7 separate regions of the Homo sapiens genome follow, and all the other regions are linked to region 4. Evidence: promoter capture Hi-C in 16 types of primary human blood cells and fetal thymus (Javierre and others, 2016). All regions are on one chromosome and are shown on one strand. The core of a region is centred on a gene start or on the middle of the fragment in contact, and the rest is flanking DNA. Distances in the headings are between cores, read along the strand shown.

The links. The method cuts DNA at HindIII sites, captures the fragments that hold promoters and counts their contacts. A CHiCAGO score of 5 or more calls a contact.
Region 1: a contact is called between a fragment that was not itself captured here and the fragment with the promoter of C6orf62 in region 4, in 2 of 17 cell types (naive CD8 T cells and total CD8 T cells). The highest score is 5.9, in naive CD8 T cells.
Region 2: a fragment that was not itself captured here is called in contact with the fragment with the promoter of C6orf62 in region 4 in 1 of 17 cell types (neutrophils); the score reaches 5.1 in neutrophils.
Region 3: a contact is called between a fragment that was not itself captured here and the fragment with the promoter of C6orf62 in region 4, in 2 of 17 cell types (activated CD4 T cells and naive CD8 T cells). The highest score is 5.5, in activated CD4 T cells.
Region 5: a fragment that was not itself captured here is called in contact with the fragment with the promoter of C6orf62 in region 4 in 11 of 17 cell types (neutrophils, naive CD8 T cells, non-activated CD4 T cells and 8 more); the score reaches 21.7 in neutrophils.
Region 6: a contact is called between a fragment that was not itself captured here and the fragment with the promoter of C6orf62 in region 4, in 7 of 17 cell types (total B cells, naive B cells, fetal thymus and 4 more). The highest score is 9.9, in total B cells.
Region 7: a fragment that was not itself captured here is called in contact with the fragment with the promoter of C6orf62 in region 4 in 8 of 17 cell types (fetal thymus, neutrophils, total B cells and 5 more); the score reaches 7.9 in fetal thymus.

Annotation. Positions count from the first base shown.
Region 1 is chr6:25,053,486-25,056,656 of GRCh38, reverse strand. No RefSeq gene overlaps it. Among named protein-coding and RNA genes, the nearest start is that of RIPOR2, 120 kb to the right of the region's middle. RefSeq lists enhancers at 72-131, 272-401, 2,382-2,551. The HindIII fragment of the contact is 4,254 bases long and covers 1-3,171 here.
Region 2 is chr6:25,127,560-25,130,611 of GRCh38, reverse strand. All of the region lies in intron 2 of LOC124901282 (a long non-coding RNA gene), which reads right to left. It also overlaps the pseudogene CMAHP. Among named protein-coding and RNA genes, the nearest start is that of CARMIL1, 150 kb to the left of the region's middle. The HindIII fragment of the contact is 6,422 bases long and covers 1-3,052 here.
Region 3 is chr6:25,107,939-25,111,043 of GRCh38, reverse strand. It overlaps the pseudogene CMAHP. Among named protein-coding and RNA genes, the nearest start is that of CARMIL1, 170 kb to the left of the region's middle. The HindIII fragment of the contact is 1,201 bases long and covers 962-2,162 here.
Region 4 is chr6:24,717,618-24,720,642 of GRCh38, reverse strand. C6orf62 (chromosome 6 open reading frame 62) reads left to right here and starts at 1,489. Exons shown (of 5, transcript NM_030939.5): 1 at 1,489-2,103. The coding sequence starts at 1,975. RefSeq lists a silencer at 276-445 and an enhancer at 15-808. The HindIII fragment of the contact is 3,349 bases long and covers 1-2,333 here.
Region 5 is chr6:24,996,803-25,000,131 of GRCh38, reverse strand. It overlaps a transcript of RIPOR2 not described here. Among named protein-coding and RNA genes, the nearest start is that of RIPOR2, 63 kb to the right of the region's middle. The HindIII fragment of the contact is 8,245 bases long and covers 1-3,329 here.
Region 6 is chr6:24,427,267-24,430,180 of GRCh38, reverse strand. GPLD1 (glycosylphosphatidylinositol specific phospholipase D1) reads left to right here. Exons shown (of 25, transcript NM_001503.4): 25 at 1,063-2,914. The coding sequence ends at 1,149. Among named protein-coding and RNA genes, the nearest start is that of MRS2, 26 kb to the right of the region's middle. The HindIII fragment of the contact is 4,577 bases long and covers 1-2,914 here.
Region 7 is chr6:25,144,568-25,147,551 of GRCh38, reverse strand. No RefSeq gene overlaps it. Among named protein-coding and RNA genes, the nearest start is that of CARMIL1, 130 kb to the left of the region's middle. The HindIII fragment of the contact is 1,781 bases long and covers 611-2,391 here.

The sequences.
Region 1 (3,171 bases), core at 102-2,601, 340 kb before region 4:
GGCCAGTTAACTGAAATGTTTAATTTTTCTTGGTAGTTTTTCTTCCTTTTTTACACGCCAGCATATTTTCTTTCGGATGTGGGTGTACATTGTTCTGTTGAGATTTTGCTTAGTTCGCGAGGTAGTTCCTGGTGATAGGTCTTGTCTTGGTGCCTTGGGTCGTAGGCACACTCTGGACCACACCTTAGAGTGTGAAGTCTCCATTAAGGCTTTCTCCCCTCTCTGAGGCTCTAAGTGGCAGCTACTGTTCTCTTCGGATATCACCTTACTTTGATCCATTTCCATGGCAACACCCTGTGGTATGAATGAGTATCTACCATACTTCCTGCTCAAGCCAGCTGTGGTGAAGGGAGGAAGCCTGAGAACTGTGGTCTCCTGAAGAGGAAGGGCACCCAAGTGGTGAAGGAGGCCCACGATGCCAAGGCTAGCTTCTCTTTCTTTACTGCAACTAGAAAGGCTGTGCTTCCTCCAGCAGTGGCCTCCCCTCAGGCCTGCCTTTGGGAACAGGCTGCACCCTCTGTTCCCAACCTTCCCTCCTTCTTTCATCCCATTCATAACGGTATGTCGTCTTCCCTCACAGCCTTTGCTCTTGTGTGTCTTTGGCCAAGAATGCCCTTCTCTTCACTCCTCTCCACTCCTGGATTCATTCCCCATCTTTCAAAGTATCGCTCAAACGCCACCTCCTCCCCAAACCTGCCTTGAGTTTCCTCCTCCTGTCAGAATTGGTTCTCCATCTTCTGGGTGCCTAAATGACTTACTGCTGCTGCTCTGACACCAATCACATTGTATCTGGTAGTATAGTGACAAGTTGTCTCTCCGTATCTGTGGGGAATCAGTTCTAGACCCCTGAGGACACCAAAATCCTCAGATGCTCAATCCCTGATATAAACTAGTGTAGTATTTGCATGTAACCTGCGCACAACCTACCATATACTTTAAATATCTCTTGATTGCTAATAATACCTAATACATATAAATGCTGTGTCCTTATACTGTATTGCTTTTCAATTTGTATTATTTTTATTGTGGTTTTATTATTTTTTATTTTTTCAAACCTTTTTTTTTTTTTTTTTTTTTGAGACGGAGTCTCACTCTTCCGCCCAGCCGGACTGCAGTGGTGCGATCTCGGCTCACTGCAAGCTCCGCCTCCCGGGTTCATGCCTTTCTCCTGCCTCAGCCTCCCGAGTAGCTGGGACTACAGGCGCCCGCCACCGCGCTCAGCTAATTTTTTGTATTTTTAGTAGAGATGGGGTTTCACCGTATTAGCCAGGATGGTCTCGATTTCCTGACCTCATTATCCGCCCACCTCGGCCTCCCAAAGTGCTGGGATTACAGGCGTGAGCCACCACGCCCAGCCTTTTCAAATATTTTTAACTGAGGTTGGTTGAATCCTAGTATGCAGAAGTCACAGATATGGAGGGCCACCTGTATTGTGTATCTTCTACATTCTCCATTGGATTTTAAGCTCCCAGGATAAAGGGTATCATTCATCTTTGTATGCCCAGTGCCTACTACATTTTTAAAAAGTGAATTGAATTAACCTCATAAGGAAGAAACCTTTAGACTTCTTGGACAATTTTCCTCAAGTAGGCTGGACACTCTCATGAGTCAAGGTGCCTTGGCAGAGATGTCAAGGAGAAAAGACCCCTTATTGTTCCTTTCTTTATCTCCCTTCAATTGCTTCCTCCTCCATCCTAAAAATGTATAAGAATAGATGTTACTCTAATCAGATGTCCCTTTGGGAACAAGCTGCATGAAACTTTTGAGAATCTCTGGTTTCATAGCACAAGTTTTAAAAGATGGTCTTTGTTATGCTGGTTGCTCACACATAAAATACAATGTTTAAAACATTGGTGAAAAACACATATATTTTATAACTGGGAAGTCTGGTTTGCAATGGTTTGTGAATATGGAAAGAGCCCTGAGCTATGAGTCAGAACTATTAATAATGCCTTAGGAACTAACTAGCTTTGTGGCTGTTGACAAGACATTTCTCCTCCTGAGGCTCTGTTCCCTCTACCATGAAACGAAGGTATGGGGCAGTGATGTCTGAGGTCTCATTGGCTCTGAAGTTCTGGGAGATTCTGATTTCATGGTTTACTTATAGGTAAAAAGAAGAGAAGCTGCCTTCGGGTGGTGGAGTCTTTAACCCACTTCTCTTCTGCCGAGACTGAAAAGGATCCAAATCTCATGGCATTAAGGTCAAAGAAAAAGTGACTTTTTAAAACTAAGTATAATAAGGAAATATTTCTCCTCTACATCTAGATATTTCTCCAGAGGGAGCTCACCACAAAAGTTAAACAGATCACTACTTTAAAAATGTTTTTCTGTTTAAATCAGGGCTGTTCCGTTGGGGCTGATTTAATCAAGAGAGAAAACAGACCTCTCTCTTGTCTCTACTCTGACTCATAAAGGCAACTCTGCTCCACTGATGTCAATTGGTCACTATTTGCATAATAAGTTATTCTAAAAGTTAAAATATCAGGCCCTTAATCACAGAAGAAAGGAAGACTTTTCAGTGAGGCCTTCCAGTGATTGCAGATTTAGAGGGCTCTTGGGACAGCCACTGGGTGGCTAAATTAGTAAGTTGACACCTAGTTACTGTTGATAGGAACAGGAAGCAGGGAAATTCTGCGCAGAAGAGGGCAGTTCCCTGGGTAGGTCCCCACTCTCAAGCTGAAACTCTTGATACTGCAGCCCAAAGTGAGAACTTACATCCCTGCTTTCCTGCTCAAATGTTGCCCTTTCCAAAACCACCCATAACCCACCCTGCCCCTCATTCTGTGCCCATAAAAACCCCAGGCTTGGCCAGCAGAGAAAGGAGAAGCAGCTGGACAACGAGGACTATGGTTGGAAGTTGGAGAGAAGCAGCTTGACTTCAGAGGGACAGCTTGATGGCATAGCTTCAGAGAGGAGTCTGACTGGGGATAGCCAGACTTCAGGGGAAGATTACCTTCCTGCTCCATCCCCTCTTTGGCTCCCCTTCCTGCTGAGAGCCACGTTCATTGGCAATAAAGTCCCCTGCATTTACCATCTTCAACTTGTTTGTGCAACCTCGTTCCTCCTGGATGCCGGACAAGAACTTGGGTGCCATGAGTGTGGTTGCAAAAGGCTATCGTGCTGATGCTCCACTGAGCTATTAACACTTAAGCTGTCTGCAGATGGCAAAGC
Region 2 (3,052 bases), core at 75-2,574, 410 kb before region 4:
AGTCTGGTGCCTTCTCCATTTTCTTTAAGGAACCCCAGGCTATTATAAACTATTTTAGGTCCTCCATGCAGCAGAGGGTGCAAGAGAAAGGAGAGATAGTAGAAGTAAATGAAGAAAACAGAATTCTGTCAACTGAAAAGAAAAAAACTTTTGCTCAAAAAAAAAAAAAAAAAAAGACAAGGTCCCAGGAGAAAAACAAAAACATGAAGTCCTTTTAAATACAAACACACACATATGCGTGCGCGCGTGCGCACACACGCACGCATCTTGGATGTTAGGTTTTAATTAAGCTGACTTTTAACCATTGAGCTCCTTAAAAAAAAACTTTTAAAATCTCATTACCATATTTCAGCTAGGACAAATTGCTGCTATTTCAGAAGTACAGCCATTGCTCTTTCAGTTTGGCCTGGCTAACAAAAAGGTGGCCTTGTTATGTAAATGAAGACCCTTAGAATAAAAAATTTTTCTTTTTGTTTTTTTTTTTTTTCCTTTTTCTGGCCATTTTTTCCCCTCCACCCCATACCACGTGTGTGCGTGAGTGTGTGTGTGTGTGTGTGTGTGTGTGTGAGAATTTAGCCACTTCAGAGGCCTTGTTCCCCATAATTTGGAATTTCCTTTGGATTTGATCAAGTTGGATAGAGTTGATCAAACCCAATGGGAAAAAGTCCAAAACAACAGTGAAAACAGGAATGAACAACAACAACAACAAAAACAGTTAAGCAAAACAATCACACAACTTATATCATTACTGAGTACTCTAATAGTAAGGAGAAATTAAGACCAGCTGGTTGTTAATCTTAACTTTAGCCAAGACAAACCCCAATTCAGTTACTTAGCTAGGGATGGGTCTCAGGGTGTAGACTGCTCTCTACCATACTAGAAGCAGAGAGAAAAAAAACTCATCTTCCCTGTTGGAAGTGAGCTCAAACTCCATAAAAGAGTTACCTGTCTTCCATAGCCATGGAAACAGGAAATCTTCCCTTCCTTTTTGGAAGCAAGTAAAAGTTTTTTTGGAATTTTACTTGCTTTTTTTTTTTTTTCCAGCAAAATAAACTTTAGATCTCTACCACATTTGGGGACATCAGGGATTCTCTGGAGGGGGTGCTCTCAGGCCTCAGCAAATTGTCCTATTGGTTTGAGCCATAAAGTTAGCTCATGCTGGTACCAAGCATAGATTTGTCAAAGGTCAGGGGCATCTCCACTCAGAATCCCTTCATGGTTACCAAAATGTGAACCCTGAAAATCTGAGACAGGTCTCAGTTAATTTAGAAAGTTTAGTTTGCCAAGGTTGAGGACATTTGGCCATGACACAACCTCAGGAGGCCCTGATGATATATGCCCAAGGTGGTGAGAGCACAGTTTGGTTTTATACATTTTAGGGAGACAAGAGACATCAATTAACATATGTAAGATGAACATTGGTTCGGTTTGGAAAAGCAGGACAACTTGAAGCAGGGAGGGGGCTTCCAGGTCATAGGTAGATAAGAGATAATTGGTTGCATTCTTTTGAGTTTCTAATTAGCCTTTCCAAGGGAGGCAATCAGATATGCATTTATCTCAGTGTGAGCAGAGGGGTGACTTTGAATAGAATGTGAGGCAGGTTTACCCTAAGCAGTTCCCAGCTTGACTTTCCCTTTTAGCTTAGCGATTTGGGGGGCCCAAGATATTTTCCTTTCACACCAGTATTGCACCTGTAGCTTGCTTGGCTCCTCAGATAGGGCTGCCAGCTTGACCAATAAAAATACAGGATGCCCAGTTAAATGTGCATTTCAGATTTAAAAAAACTAATGTATTTTTAGTATAAATATGTCCAAAGTAGTTAATGGGACACCCTTTTAGCTGGCAACTCTGCTCTAGGAGAACCTCTAAGTAATTCCCTGATGGCCCATTTTGATGTTCTTCCATCTTCTGGGTGGATTCAAGTCAGTGAAGCCTCAGACATAGTTCTGTCACTGGTAAACTTCCGCCAGCACTTCAAGGTGTTGGAGTTTTCTCTTCCAACTATTACAGCTTTGGGACTCTGTCTCTGGGTTTCCTCTCCTAGTTTTTTAACTTAGCGGGCCATTTCACAGAGTGCCACTTAGCCAGCCATTTAAGGAGGCCTTAAAGTTTACTGATTAAGAGCATCATCTCTCCTTATAGACTACCTGGTTTAGAAGCCTGATTCCACGACTTACTAGCTAGGTCATAACCCTCGACAGGTTTCTTAGCCTTTCTGGACCTCGGTCTTCTCATTTCTAAAATGAGGATGAAAATATTACCTACTTTGTCAGGTTGCTGAGAGGATTAAGTGATGCCAAACACATAAAACTTAAAAGAATGCCATATGGTGGTATATGGCAAGCACCTCAAAAAAGTGAATTATAGTTACTATTTCTCTGCAATGAGCTTCTTGTGTAGCTTATACAGAGGGACTTTTTTACAGGAACTCAGATTGTTTTTGTATCTAATATGCTCATCTAAGTATAGTGATTGCTTTCCCACAGACTAGCCTTTCTCTTCTTCATTCAAAGCCTTACAGGTGATTGACCTGTTCTCTTGACACATTAGTCCTCCCCTCTTAGCTCTCCTGCCCATGAGGAAGCAGGTTCTGCCAGCTTTATTCCCAGATGCAGCTCACCAAGCATTTGCACGTTGAGACTGCATTTCTGTGTTAACTTATGCTCTGTATTCTCCCATCCACTTCTCTGAGTTCAGTAAATTATAGTTGGATTCTCTTCGTAGCTATTTATCTGAAGAAACTGTCTTTTCTAGTTTCTAGGTTCCAGCCAAGAACAGAGACCTACCTGTTCTACCCACCATTATTCAGCCATTTTTCTTCTCAACACAACCAAGATCAACAAATCCTATAAGCCATGATTCTCATCTTTAAAGCCTATCAATTTTTCACAACCTCCTCTAACTGGAAAACTGTTGTCTCCCTGTCATCTATGACCGCATGGTTCTGCCAATTTTCCCTTTCATGGCCTGGCATGCCAAATAGCTGCAGTTGGAATGTTCCATCAGAATTAATTGAAAGGTTGTTGGCTACTTATCAATGAGAAAGGAGTCA
Region 3 (3,105 bases), core at 313-2,812, 390 kb before region 4:
AGAATCAGAAAACCCAAATTTGAATACCAGTTTACTGTGTGTTGTATATTTCTGAATGTTTCCTCATCTACAAAAACAAAAAATTCATAGCTTTTTGATAAGAATTGACTAACATAGTATGTAAAACTGCCCCAGCACCAAGTTTGAAATATAATAGATGTGTAATCATTTGTTTGTTTATTCAACTTTCTACCACACCCTACAGTGGTATAATAACTCTGTTATATAATGAATGCTCAATAAATAAAAGCCGACTTAATATGTCTAGATAGTCAAAAATACTTGGATGATTGTTGTGCACTGAGTTGGGATTACTACAAATGTTGGATGTAGTTCCTCAACACTAAATTTTACTGTCTTGCCTAGCTGGTAATTCTGTCCCTCCTTAAGGATGAATAATATAGTCTGTTAAAGTGTGGCTTTAATATACAAAATATATTATTTATCCTTAAAAAGGGACAGAATCTTTGAAGGTTGAAAAACCAACCCCCAAAATGGTCCGAGACATGGGCTTTTGTCCTGTACTATGTCCCAGTCCTCTCTCTTACTGAGAGCTACTGCTTGAAGCATGCAAAGAAATGAGGATCTCCGTGATCTTCATTTCTTTCCTCTACAGCATGACTTTTTCTCGTCTGTGCCTACTGTTAGAACTACCCCTCCTTCAAGCAGCATCACTGTGGAAAATGGAACTTACCTACCTGGTTGATGTCCACACCATGAGCATTTGATATGTTCTAACAACAAAGATGAATCCCCTCAGAATCTCCCGTCACTTTCACAGTCATCCTTGAACAGAAACTTTTCTCTGGACTCTGGTGAGAGTCCAGTTTTTCAATTCCTCACTTCTCTGTCAATATGTTGGTATAAGGAACAAACTGTCTGTCATACTAGATGACACTATTTTTTTCTCTTTTCAACCTTTCCATCTGTCTTATCCTAGTTACCCCACACTGAAAAAGCTTGCTGGGAGAAGACCAGATATTCCCATTTATGTTGGAAACACAGAAAGGCCTGTATTTTGGAATCTGAATCAGAGCGGTGTCCAGTTGACTAATATCAATGTCGTGCCATTTGGAATATGGCAGCAGGTCAGAAATCTGCTTTCTTTCCATGCTTTCCAGTTATGCTTTCTGTGATGAATGTTAGGTGAGATAGTCACCGTAAGATTAAGGAAAAAATGGGTCAATGTGGTATGTCCCTGATACTGCATAAACACAACCTCTATTTGTGATTCAAATGTTAGGCAGACTGTCCTGGGCAAAGATGATTTTCTTTCTATTAACCCATACTATTATAGTACAACTCTACAGAACAGGTAATAAATCTAGTTCTGAATAAGGAAATTTCTTCAAATGTGAGGTTCAATTGACCAGTCTTTCCAGAACAGGTGATTACCTTCTCAAATACTGAATTAAAAACCAAACTGAAATTCACAGTTGTTGGTTTTGTTGTTAAATTCCAGGTGGACAAAAATCTTCGATTCATGATCTTGATGGACGGTGTTCATCCTGAGATGGACACTTGCATTATTGTGGAGTACAAAGGTATGTTTTTATCCCCATTGATAACGAAAAATGGAAAACATTCTTAATAGGAAGGATGGTAATATCTATATGAAATTTCATCACATGTTCATCTTTTAGCTCCATTTTGAAAGAATATAGCGTGTTATATCCTTGTTCTAGAAATATGGAGCTATCTTTCAAATAATTTTTCCAGAAAACAAATTAGAAATAATGTCATCTAGATAGTGACAGGAGCAAAGATTTCTTTCATAAGGCAATAGATATTTTACATTCCACCTATAGTGATTTCTTCAAAACTACATTTATTAAATAAATGTCTTTTATTACTTTCACCTAGAAATATCATGTAATATAATCATGCACTGCTTTTCATATGAAAAGATGGCCTTACTGCCCCAACAATCATTTGAATATGAGCTTTGCATGTAATTTGCAAAAGGTACAGGGAAGTATGTTAATCCACTTTTTTCTGATCCTTTGGGCTCAACACCTGGAAAAAGTTGACAGAAGAAAGCAGTCTATCTATGAGCTAGAGTGGAATTAAGATAAAAGTCTTCATGAGACACCTAGTATCCACCAAGTCAAATGGGATGAATTTAGTCGCTTGAAAATTCAGAAAATATACTATTGAAAGCTTTAAGTTTTAAAATCTTACTGTTTGTTTTTCCTTTGATATAATCAATTCTTCTATAATCAAATAAGTTCAATTATACAGACTGTATACAGAAGTCCTTGTCTTGGAATTCAAACTATGGGTGTTCAAGATTTCACCTTGAATATCTATACCTCTTTGTTTCTCCACAGGTCATAAAATACTCAATATAGTAGACTGCACCAGACCCAATGGGGGAAGGCTGCCTATGAAGGTTGCTCTAATGATGAGTGATTTTGCTGGAGGAGCATCAGGCTTTCCAATGACTTTCAGTGGTGGAAAATTTACGGGTAATATTTTGTATGAAAGTGATACCAAGTATCACGCATGGCACATTGCTAAATGCTGTAAGAGTAAATACAAATGTAATTGAGACATGATCCCTCCCCACAAGAAGCATGCAATCTTATTGGGAAACCAGATTTGTAAGTTGCAGATTACCAACTAAGGTTTCTAGCTCAAAACATGATGGAGCATGAAGGAAATGTTGAGATCTGAGAGCACCTCAGGAGGAGCCAAGAAAGAGAATCATCTGGATTCACCATGTAGACCGTAGAGCAGAACAGGAAAGGCCTGAAGTGGGTCATCCAGGCTTAGGTGCTCTTGGAATATGGTTCCTAATGGGGTGTGTGCAGCCTCAATGTAGACACATCCCCTTGGCACTGTGGATGCTCATATCAGGGAGCAGTGTGCCCAGAAGAGAGTCCTCTAGTTGGGGACCTCTAGTGCACCCAGAGGAGGGTCCTCTGGTTGGGGGTCTTAGGCAGGAGCCCTTCTGCTCTGGGTCCAAGAGTGGGGTTGGGGTTGACATTGGGGAAGTGTGTATCCTCAACACTAGTATTGTAAGTGCTCAATACATGTCCACTTAATAAATTAATGTATCTGATAAGTGATCCCTGTCTAACAGTGTGGCAGAAAATGCCCTGC
Region 4 (3,025 bases), core at 240-2,739:
TGCTTGAACTGAAATAACTTTATTTTGGGGGGTTACTTTGCTGACCCTTAGCGCAGGGCTTCCTTTCCCTTCCCCCTCCGCCGCCAGTACCAATCCAACTCCCCATCTTTCTCTTTGTTTTTCCTCTTTTTCTTTTTCTCTCCCTGTTGCCGCTGTCTCCGCGTCCTTCCCCTCCGTTGCCGCCCAGGGCGCCGAGCCAGACTATGGGTCCCAGGTGGGGGCTGAGCGGCGGCAGCAGCGCGGGCGGTCCAGTCACGGTGCGCACTGCAGCGGGGATGGAGGGGCTCAGTTGGCTGGTGGTTTTCTCTTGACATGGCTCCTGCCCGTGCTACCAGCAGCGCCCCCGCCGCCGCCGCCTCTTCCGCCGCCGCCACCGCTCCGCCCGCAGGCTGCGGCTAGAGGGCCCAAACCCCGCCCTAGAGTCGGTCCGTGAGTCCCGGGCTCCGCGGGGACAGGGAGGGGATTTCCCCGTCACCCACCCCGCCCTAGCTGCCTCAATTCCACCCCCTGCCCCTCGGGAAACAACTAACGACCCCACCCTAAACAATCCAAACTCTGGAAACATGGTCTGTTCAACGTGAGAGAGAGCTAATCCGGGAACTTAATTTTTTGGGGGGAGGGTGGGTGGGCTTACTTTAGAAGTAATATTAACACAATTATTTTCTTTTTTTCCCCCACTGAACCTTCCCATTTACCCTCTCCCGCCCACTCCACCCGGGCGGGAATTGTTTCCACGATGAAATGAGTGAAAACCTGAGTGATCCTGTGTCTCCCGTGGTGCGAGTGAGTCGCTGCCGCTGAAGGCAAGGGGTGGGGGTGGGACCTGCGGGGGTGGAAGGCAGGTGGTCTCCGGGCACCGCCTGGGATTTGGGAGAAGAACCCGCCACCTTTGCCTCGGCAATGCTCACAAGAAGATAAATCGCACTCCCCACCATTTTGAACGGGGGCAGATCCACAGGGAAGTCTCCCTTGGGGAATGTAGGACTAGTTGCAGGCTGGGGGTGTTGGGAACCCGGGCATTAATCAGGTCTAACCACAGAGCCGGAATAATTAATACCGTATTATATACCCCTTTTCCTTCTGCCGTCATGATTCTCCTTGGCAGCAGCGTTAGCAGCCGCCTGAGGGTGAAAATGTGGGTGATGGGGAAGTTGGTAATGACTCCGCTGTTTTTTCTCATGGCTCCTTTGGGCCACAGCTGCCCGCCCCCGGTATACACTGTAGTTGATTGCAGGGAAACCCTGTACCTCTCCCTTTCCTTCTCTACCGATTTTGCACTTTTCTCTATGCTCACCACCAAGTGTAATCAATAACAAGCACTGACAATACATAGCAATAGTGAAATCTGAAATAACTAAGAATTAGGTACTACAGCCATGGAGCTGGCTGGGTAAAATCTAATTGGATATTTCAGTTTCATTCACCTACCCTGTTTTGGTGTTTGGTTTTGGTTTTGGTTTTGGTGAGTTTTTTTTTTTTTTTTTTTTGGAAAGCAAGGATCACACTTCCCCCTCCCTGTTCCTTAATCCCTTTTCTAAAAAGGGGGGAAAATCCGGATGGATTTTAGGGATTGGTCTGGTGTCAGCTGTGTTTTATTGCACACCTAAATCCTGATTATAGGCTTTTCATTTCTCCGCAAAGCCTTTATTTTGGCAGTTAAGCCAAATGTGTTTTCCAGAAAGTTAGTTATTTTCTCCTCTTTCTTTCCTTTCTTTCCTCCCTTTTTCCCGTCTGACCCCAAACGTTATTGTCCAAACATGACTGGACAGCAGCTTTTGTTTCTTGACCCTGTAATATGACAGTCTGCTAATATTGACAGAAGGTGCAGTTTTTGGGTTATAGTCGTGATTTTCGCTAATCAATCATATTAGCAGGAAAAAAAATGACTTGTTTCTGTTGTACTTGAGTCTTAAGAAAAAGTGCCCATAGTTTAGTGACAATTTCCAAAGGCTTTAGTACCACCTGTATTTCAAAATGGGGGACCCAAACTCCCGGAAGAAACAAGCTCTGAACAGACTACGTGCTCAGCTTAGAAAGAAAAAAGAATCTCTAGCTGACCAGTTTGACTTCAAGATGTATATTGCCTTTGTATTCAAGGAGAAGGTAATTTAAAGTTCTTAATGGTGAATTAGCACAAGTAATTTTTGTAAGTGTATATTATTTGTTACTCTTAAATTATTATGAATATTAGGTTAAAGAGTGGTTGAAAAAAAGTCTGCTTTGTATGCTCTGTTTTTTCACCCTTAGGGGTGATTCTGTGAATTGAGCAGTTGCAGCATGCGAAAAGACCCTTGAGCGTTCTTTGGTTTGGAAATAAATTTGAGTCTGAAGCTTAGTAGTAGTATACACTGAGTTGACATGGGGTGGGCAAGATTACAAAATTTTATATGGAGTTAACATGGGAAACCTTATGATGGAATTTAAAGATTATCTAATGTAGAGTATAAATAAGATGGTTGAAAGTGTGAAATTGTAATCAGACTGTTTATATGCTAAAGTTTATCCTGTTTCTTAAACTGCGTAATGTAGGTAACCTTTTCTCTTACATTTAATGAAGTAGAATACACCTTTTAGGAGCAATTAAATACTGAAATGGTTAATTTGTGTTTAGAAGTGTGATTTTCTTTTTTACTTAGAGTTCATTTTGCCTTGTATAGAAGTACAGTTTTTAAAAACTCAAAATGACCTAGAGGAAGTTTCATTTTTAGGGGCGGTGGAGGTCTTAATCAGAATTAGTTCCGCAGTTAAATAGCAAACAGTAAGTTGTGAGTAGTCAAGGATGGGATGATAAGAGCAGTATTTTTTGCAACTTAAAATGAACATTTTCTTAAATTATCAGCAAGGCTTATTTGACCAAAGATGAGGTTATGAATGTAAGGAAGTGCTACTTGGATTTTGGTGCTTAAATTGTTAGCTAATTTCAGATCAGAAATACAATCTTAGTGTGGTATCTATTAAGTATCTGGAAGTTTTCCAGGTTTCCCCCTACTGTTTAACTCTTATTATTTTTGTTGCTGAGACAGGC
Region 5 (3,329 bases), core at 484-2,983, 280 kb before region 4:
ATGTGTGCATAGGACTAGACTTGAGAGAGACCATGGTATTGGGGATATGCAAATGGCCCTGGGTGGCTGGGGCCATGAAGGCAAAAGATGAAGGGTGGCAAGGAATTGGGCAAGGCATACTTGAAGCTAAAAATCTCAGTCAGCTGGCTGACCTTCTCTCACCACCACCTGATACTGATGGGCTCAGAGAGGTCCCCAAACATGGTTGAGACCTCGACTCCAGCTGGTGTCCAGGCTCTTGACACTGTTGCAAGAAGGAATTCAAGGATGAGTCAGGGCTGGGCGCGGTAGCTCATGCCTGTAATCCCAGCACTTTGGGAGGCTGAGGCAGGTGGATCAGGAGGCCAGGAGATCAAGACCATCCAGGCTAACACAGTGAAACCCTGTCTCTACTAAAAATACAAAAAAATTAGCCAGGCGTGGTGGTGGGCGCCTGTAGTCCCAGCTACTTGGGAGGCTGAGGCAGGAGAATGGCGTGAACCCGGGAGGTGGAGCTTGCAGTGAGCCGAGATCATGCCACTGTGCTCCAACCTGGGGAACAGAGCGAGACTCTGTCTCAAAAAAAAAAAAAAAGGATGAGTCAGAAAATAGTGAAAGTACAGAGATTTGTTGCAGAGGGAAAATTACACACTCAAGAGAAGGGAATGTGGTTGTAGACAAGAGTCATGCACAAGGGGGTTTGGGGTTGCTACCTTCATGGGTTTCTTTAACCAAAGCAAGGGGTGGAATATTCACGAAAATTCCTGGGAAAAGGTGGAGATTTCTCAGAATTGTCATGCCGCCCACTTTTCCAGCAAGTATAGATGTTCTTGGAACTGTCATGGCACTGGCAGGTGTGTGATTTGTATGTTAATGAGCATATAATAAGGTCCTAGGTGAAACCTAAGTAGGATCCAGCTCCATGTTGGGTCCAGTCAGTCTCAGTCAGCTTGGTCCACACCTGGTTTTTCAGGGTCTTATCAGCCCATAGCCTCTAGTTATGTGAAACTGCTGCCTGGAATTTTTATTCTCCTGTAACCACCCTGTAAGTTTCCTGTCTCACATCCAAATCAACATCCCCAAGATTCCCTATCAGCCTTCATTTGATCTCCCAGATCAATTAGGAGGAAGGAACACTCTGATTCAGTGCTATGTGGAGTCACCCTGGAGCCTGAGGCAAAAGGAATATGCATCCCTATAGTGTACATTCACCCAAAAATGTTCCTATAGTTTGTGGAAGAAGTCAATACAAGCTCTACAATAAAAAAAAAAAAATGACTGCATATAAAGTTCCACATTGTCCAATCTGTTCCCGTGCCATTGTCAACTCTCATTGACAAGGTCTGTCCTGGCCAACCTTGGGCCGATTGGAATTCCTGTTCCACAATAACCCAGGGTCATAAAACAAATAACAGCAGCCTGTCTTCACCTAATTTTTTGATATTTTGTTTATTGTAGATTTTTTTTGCCCATAGTCTATAGATGAGAAATATATAGGATCCAGGTGGTAAAAAATCATGTGAAAAATGGTAAGCAGTTTGCATTTTGTATAGGGGCAATGGAGAGACGTTGAAAGGCTTTGAACATGGAAACAAAGGAATCAGATTTTCTGGGTTAGAAATATCATTCTAGTTGCAGATTTGAGGGTAGATTTGGGATGCTAGATTTTTTGATAGAAACATCTGTATTTATAGTCACCAAAAATATCCCTTGGGGGATTGCTATTAACTTTATAAAAATGGTTTGCAATATAAAATCCTTGTAAATGAGAAATACATTTGTAAATATGTACTGATTTGTACATATGTCTGATGGTAAATTTGATTATTCACAACTTTTCAAAAACACACTCCTGTGTTTTTGCAAGTGATCATTTTGTTGAGATTCTCAAAGAATTACTTGAGCAAGCTGATGAACACATCATGGAGTATAAATTGCAGAGGAGACCGTTTTCTATCCAAAACACAAGAAAACAAACAGATTGAGGAAGTTAAGGGGAAAAGGAGAAAAAGAGGGGCTTGGCAGTTTAAGAGTGTGGGCTAATTTACATCTGAAAATCCTCTCTCATGCTGTTCTCTGCACCTGGAATACCCTCCCCACCGCCTATTCAATTTCAAGGCCCAAATCAAGCTCTATTCCTAAGACTTTTTTGATTGCTCCAGTGCATCCAATCTCCTTTTCCCCTTTAGTTAGTGGCCCTGAAACCTAAGTGTGAGAATCACCCAAAGGACTTACCGAAGCAAAGTTTTGGTTTCAGTAGGTCTGGAGTGGGGACTGAGGATGTATTTCCAACAAGTTCCCAGATGATGCTGATGCTGCTCACGGGCCACACTTCGGGAATCACTGCTTTAAACCAGTGCGTGTTTCTCAGACTTTAATGTGCATACAGATCACCTGGGGGTCTTGCAAAGGATGCTACACTGAGCTCTATATCAATGGTTTTCAACAAAGGATGACTTTACTCCCAGGGAACATTTGGACATGTTGGACATTTTTGGTTGTTATATACTGTGGCAGTAGGAAGTGAGGAGTGCTTTTGCTTGTTACTGGCATCTAGTGGGTAGGGGCCAGAGATGCTTCAAAACATCCTACAATGCCAAGGACAGCCTCCCACAATCAAGAATTATCTAACCCAAAATACCACTGTTGGGAAACCTTGATTTAAACCATACAATTTAGATACCATCACCATTTGCTATTGCTCATGGAGGCTGTAAGGACTGCAGTTTCCTAAAAGCAAGCACTATGTCTAATATAGAAATTCTGAGGCTCTTCCTCTTTCTGGGCCAAATACTACCTTCCCACCCCACCTCCCCTCCAAATGCCTAACGCAGTGTTTACTACATAGTGAGCATACAGGAAAAGGTTTTTTAAATTAACTACCTAGGAACACTCAAACTAGTGGTTCTCAGGCTTAACTGTATATTAGAATCACCTGGGGAGTTTTTTAAAACACAAATGCCTGCATCCCACCAACAGAGATTCTGATTTCATTGTTGTGTGCTATGGCCTGCATGTTGGGAGTTTTAAAAGCTCTGCAGGTGAGCCCAATGAGCAGACAAGGTTGAAAATCATTGGACTCCATCCTCGCTAGTTAGTAATTCACATTTGAAACTGTGAGATTGAGAAGGAACACTTGTAGCCGCTTCAGCGTATGTATGATTGCCCCTAAGGAAAACCCATTCCAAAACAAGTTAGACCCATAAAATGTCATTAATTTCCAAGTAGTTGTTCTGTACCGCCTGTGAGTTGTCCATTATGCTATGTGCTAGGAATACAAAATTGAAAAGTTTAAGGGCTCTGCCTTCTAGGGACCTCCTAGTGCAATGGAGAAGTTAACTATGAACAAT
Region 6 (2,914 bases), core at 164-2,663, 290 kb after region 4:
AGTACCATTTGATGCTGTTTTCTTAAGTGTAGATTTTCCCTATTAATTGACACTGGGTATTAAGGGATAAGATAAGCACAGGGCTAAGCATAGTGTCTGACCCATGATACAACCTCCACAAATTTTAGCTATTATTATTATTTCTAGATTTCATCAGTAGTTTTCAAAATTAAATAAGAAACTGTCATATCCTGCTCTGACCAAAATACTGTCAGCCAGTTTGATCACCCGTACCTCATGTGCCAGCTTTGGTTCAGAATAACTTTTGTCAGTTTCCACAAATCAAATCCGACCTCGGAGTATGAAGATTTGCCACCACTGAAAATATTTAAAGACCAGGCATGGTGGCTCACATCTGTAATTTCAGCACTTTGGGAAGCCGAGGCGGGTGGATCACTTGAGGTCGGGAGTTCGAGACCAGCCTGGCCAACATGGTGAGAGCTCGTCTCTACTAAAAATACAAAAATTAGCCAGATGTGGTGGCACATGCCTGTAATCTCCGCTACTCGGGAGGCTGAGACATGAGAATCACTTGAAACTAGGAAGCAGAAGTTGCAGTGAGCTGAGATCACATCACTGCACTCCAGCCTGGGTGACAGGGCAAGACTCTGTTTCAAAAAAGAAGAAAATGTTTTAAAAACTTGCAGCAGGTTTTGAAGGCAATTCTGAAAGATGGGTCCTAAAATGTTTTAAGCAGCAGGGTAGGTGGGAGGTACGCTAAACACATTGACAAAGCCAGCTTCTAGGGGAAGTCCTTACTATTCAAGATATGTTTTCCACATTGTACCAGAACTAAGCATGCACTGCCCTACTTCTCCTTTATGATTTATGTGCCAGAATAGGGATTGGGGTGAGCATCCTTAGCTGCGGTTTTCAGAACTTATAGATGTGAGAAAGCGGTCTGTAAACAAAGGGAAAGTGGCATTTGAGTTCAAGCCAGGGGATCTGGCCAGTGTCTTATTCATCTTTATATTTCTAGAGCATAGCATGATGCCTGGACTACCATAGGAACTCAATAGATGTTATGAATGAGCCATGAATTCTGTCTTGTGTCCCTTACAGAACCAAGTCGTCATTGCTGCTGGAAGGAGTTCTTTGGGAGCCCGACTCTCCGGGGCACTTCACGTCTATAGCCTTGGCTCAGATTGAAGATTTCACTGCATTTCCCCACTCTGCCCACCTCTCTCATGCTGAATCACATCCATGGTGAGCATTTTGATGGACAAAGTGGCACATCCAGTGGAGCGGTGGTAGATCCTGATAGACATGGGGCTCCTGGGAGTAGAGAGACACACTAACAGCCACACCCTCTGGAAATCTGATACAGTAAATATATGACTGCACCAGAAATATGTGAAATAGCAGACATTCTGCTTACTCATGTCTCCTTCCACAGTTTACTTCCTCGCTCCCTTTGCATCTAAACCTTTCTTCTTTCCCAACTTATTGCCTGTAGTCAGACCTGCTGTACAACCTATTTCCTCTTCCTCTTGAATGTCTTTCCAATGGCTGGAAAGGTCCCTCTGTGGTTATCTGTTAGAACAGTCTCTGTACACAATTCCTCCTAAAAACATCCTTTTTTAAAAAAAGAATTGTTCAGCCATAAAGAAAGAACAAGATCATGCCCTTTGCAGGGACATGGATGGAGCTGGAGGCCATTATCCTTCATAAACTATTGCAGGAACAGAAAACCAAACACTCCATATTCTCACTTGTAAGTGGGAGCTAAATGAGAACACGTGGACACATAGAGGGAAACAACACACACTGGGGCCTATGAGAGGGCGGAAGGTGGGAGGAGGGAGAGATCAGGAAAAATAACTAATGGATACTTAGGGTGATGAAATAATCTGTGTAACAAACCCCCATGACACACCTTTATGTATGTAACAAACCAGCACTTCCTGCGCATGTACCCCTGAACTTAAAAGTTAAAAAAAAGTTGAACTTAAAAATAACAGATTGGCCCATGCCAATCAAAGTATAATAGAAAGCATAGTATACAGAAAAAAAAAAAAAAAAGAAACTGAGGGAGGAAAAATAGTACAGAGTAAAGCATGGGGGTGAGGGATAACCTCACATTCCAAATCACTTGTGACTTAGTCCTTTTTAACTTTTATTTTAGGTTCAGTGGTACATGTGAAGGTTTTATCTTTTCTGTTCCTCCCACCTTCCCCACTCAAGTAGACCCCAGTGTGTGTTGTTTTGTGTTCATAAGTTCTTTTAACTTAGCACCCACTTGTGAGAACATGCTATACTTGGTATTTGGTTTTCTGTTCCTGGTCGTGTGTTAGTTTGCTAAGGATGATAGTCCTTTTTTTTTTTTTTTTTTTTTGAGACGGAGTCTTGCTCTGTTGCCCAGGCTGGAGTGCAGTGATGTGATCTCAGCTCACTGCAACCTCCGCCTCCCAGGTTCAAGTGATTCTCCTGTCTCAGCCTCCCAGGCAGCTGGGACTACAGGTGCACAATACTACGCCCGGCTAATTTTTGTATTTTTAGTAGAGACAGGGTTTCACCATGTTGGCCAGGCTGGTCTCGAACTCCTGATCTCAGGTGATCCACCCACCTTGACCTCCCAAAGTGCTGGGATTACATGTGTGAGCCACAGGACCTGGCCGATAATCCTTTCTTAATGAGGATTAATACCTTTTCAATGTTTATATAGTGAAGGACAAATATAAAAACCAAGACTATCACCCTTCTGTGCCCTCCAATACTTTTGTAGAGTTGGCTGTTCTAACACCTAAAGAGCCTAGCGACACTGCTAGTTTTAAGCCATCTCATGAGGGACCTTTGTCGCATTAGGTTACAACTTGTGCCAAAAGAACTAGAGGGAAAAGATGTGGCCTGAGCCACACGCTACTGTAAGGGCCGGAGAGGAAAGCAGGCCTTGGCCTCGCTTGTTCCTGGGCTG
Region 7 (2,984 bases), core at 252-2,751, 430 kb before region 4:
TGCACATATTTCTCCAGTGTTGAGACTTAGCTAAGAGTAGGATTGTTAGGTGACAGTATATGTGTATTCTCTGTTTTAGTGTAGAATGCCACACTATTTTTCAATGAGATTGAACCTCACTACATTGTCATTAGTAACATATGAGAGTTTCCATACTCCTATTATCAACATTTAGTACTTGCAGTTGTTTTAATTTTAGTTGTTCTGGTAAGTATAGTGGTACTTCATTGTGGTTTTTATTTTCACTTCCCCATTGCTAGTGAGGCTGAGCTCTGTTTATACAGTTAGTCACAATTTGGATATTCTATTTTATGAAGTACCTATTCAAACCTTTTTGCCCATTTTTCTTATAGATTGTCTTTTTCTTATTGATTTATAGACATTCTTCTATATTCTGCATAGAAATCCTTTGTCATATTTATGTTGCAAATTTTCATTATGTGTCTTACCTTTTTACTCTTTTATTGTGTTTTGGGGTGTATATGTTCTTTTGGTGTAATCTAAAATTGCAATAATTTTCCTTTTGGGTAGAGCTTTTTGTGTTTTGTTGAAAAAAATCCACCGTGTCCCAAGATTATAAAAAATTTCTCCTAAATACCTTCCAAAAGCTTGATTGTTTATCTTTTAAATGTAAGTCTTTTAACTTGTCTGAAATTGATTTTTATCTATGGAATAAGGAAAGAGTCCAATCTATTTTTCCAATATGGGATCCCAGTTACCCCAGCAAGTTTAGTGGAAACATTTATCCTTTCCCTAGTGATCTACAGTGTCACTTATCAAGTGTTGGTGTATATGTGGACTTGTTTCCAGGCCTCTATCCTGTTCCCTTGATTATTTTATCTACCACTGAGCCAACACTATATGATCTTAATTATTATAGCTTACAATAAGTCTTGATATTTGCTAGGACAAATCCTCTCTCATCTCCCACCTTGTTCTTCTTGAAGAATGTTTTTTCTCTTTTTGGCCCTTGGCATATCTTAATAAATTTTAGAGTAAGTTTTTAAGCTGTAAAAAAAAAAAAAAAATTCTGGGGGTTTTATTGAGACTATAGTAAATCTACAGATAAATTTGGAGTAAATTGATTATCTTCATAATATTGAGCTTCCTATCTATGAACATAATATAACTCTTCGTTTATAGATACACTTAATATCTCTCAATAGAGTTTTATAATTTTCTCCAAAGAGATCATCTTTTGTTAAATGTATTTCTTGATATTTCATTTTTTATGCTATCTTTTAATTTTTATTTATTTATTTATTTTTTGAGATGGAGTTTCTCTCTTGTTGCCCAGGCTGGAGTGCAATGGCACGATCTCGGCTCACTGCAATCTCTGCCTCCCGGGTTCAAGCAATTCTCCTGCCTCAGCCTCCTGAGCAGCTGGGATTACAGGCATGTGCCACTACACCCGGCTAATCTTGTATTTTTTGTAGAGACGGGGTTTCACCATGTTGGCCAGGCTGGTCTCGAACTCCTGACCTCAGGTGATCCACCTCAGCCTTTTCTGCTATCTTAAATGATATATTTTTAAATTCAATTTTTGTATTTTTTATTGCTGATGTGAGAATAAATTGATTTCTTAAACTATTGATTATATATCTAACAGCTGTACTAAACTCTCAGAGTCTTATAATTTATATGTGGGTTCTTCTGAATGTTTATGTATACAGTCAGTTCTAAGTATCTTCAAAAATGATTTTTTTTCTTTCCACTCCTTATGTGTTTGACTTTTTTTTTTCTTGCCTTAATGTGCTGAGTAGCTTATTCAGGTCTCTTTACTTTTACCTAATGTCTTTTTCTGTTTCAGGGTTACATCTAAGATACCACATCACATTAGCTAAGGAGCTATCATGTCTCCTTAGGCTTCTCTTGGCTGTAATATTTACTTAGATTTTTCTTGTTTTGGATGACCTTGAGTTTCAAGGAGTACAGACCATGTATTTTATAGGTTACCTCTCTACTGGAATTTATCTGATTTTTTTTCTCATGGTTAGACTGGGATTATGGGTTTGCAGGAGGAAGACCACATCATATTAAAGTTACATTCTAACATAATTTATCACCGTTGATATTGACGGATTGTCACATTTCCTTACTGTTAAAGTTACTCTTTTTTTCATCATTTCCATACTGTACTCTTTGAAAGGAAGTCTCTATGAAAGGAAGTCTCTATGTGCAGCCCACATTTAAGAATTGATTATTTCAGATTTTCTACATAGGCAATCATGTTATCTGTGAACAAAAACAGTTTTACTTCTTTCTTCCCAATTTGTATACCACTTATTTATTTATTTGCCCTATTTTATTGTCTAGAACTTTCAATGCAATGTAGAAAAGCAGTGGTGAGAGACGACATCCTTGCCTTGTCCTTATCTTAGTAAGAAAGCTTCTACTTTCTCATTTTTTGTAGATGTTTTAATTAATTAATTAATTAATTTATTTATTTATTTAAGATACAGGGTCTTGCTCTGTCTCCCAGGCTGGAGTCCAGTGGTGTGATCATAGGTCACCCCAGCTTTGAACTGGGGGCTCAAGTGATACTTACATATTGGCCTACCAAGTAGCTAGGGCTATAGATGCATACTGCCATGCCTGGCTAATTTTTTTTTTTTTTTTTTGAGATGGAGTCTCACTCTGTCACCCAGGCTGAAGTGCAGTGCCATGAGCTCAGCTCACTGCAACCTCCGCCTCCTGGGTTCAAGCAGTTCTCCTATTTCAGCCTCCCAAGTAGCTGGGATTACAGGCGTAGGCCACCATGCCTGGCTAATTGTTGTATTTTAGTAGAGACGGGGTTTCACCATGTTGGCCAGGCTGGTCTTGAACTCCTGACCTCAGGCGATCCACCTGCCTCAGCCTCCCAAAGTGCTGGGATTACAGGCATAAGCCACCGCACCTGGCGCTTTTTTATTTTTATTTTTTAGCAATGGGGTTTTGCTATGTTGACCAGGCTGGTCTTAACCTCCTGGCCTCAAGTAATCCTT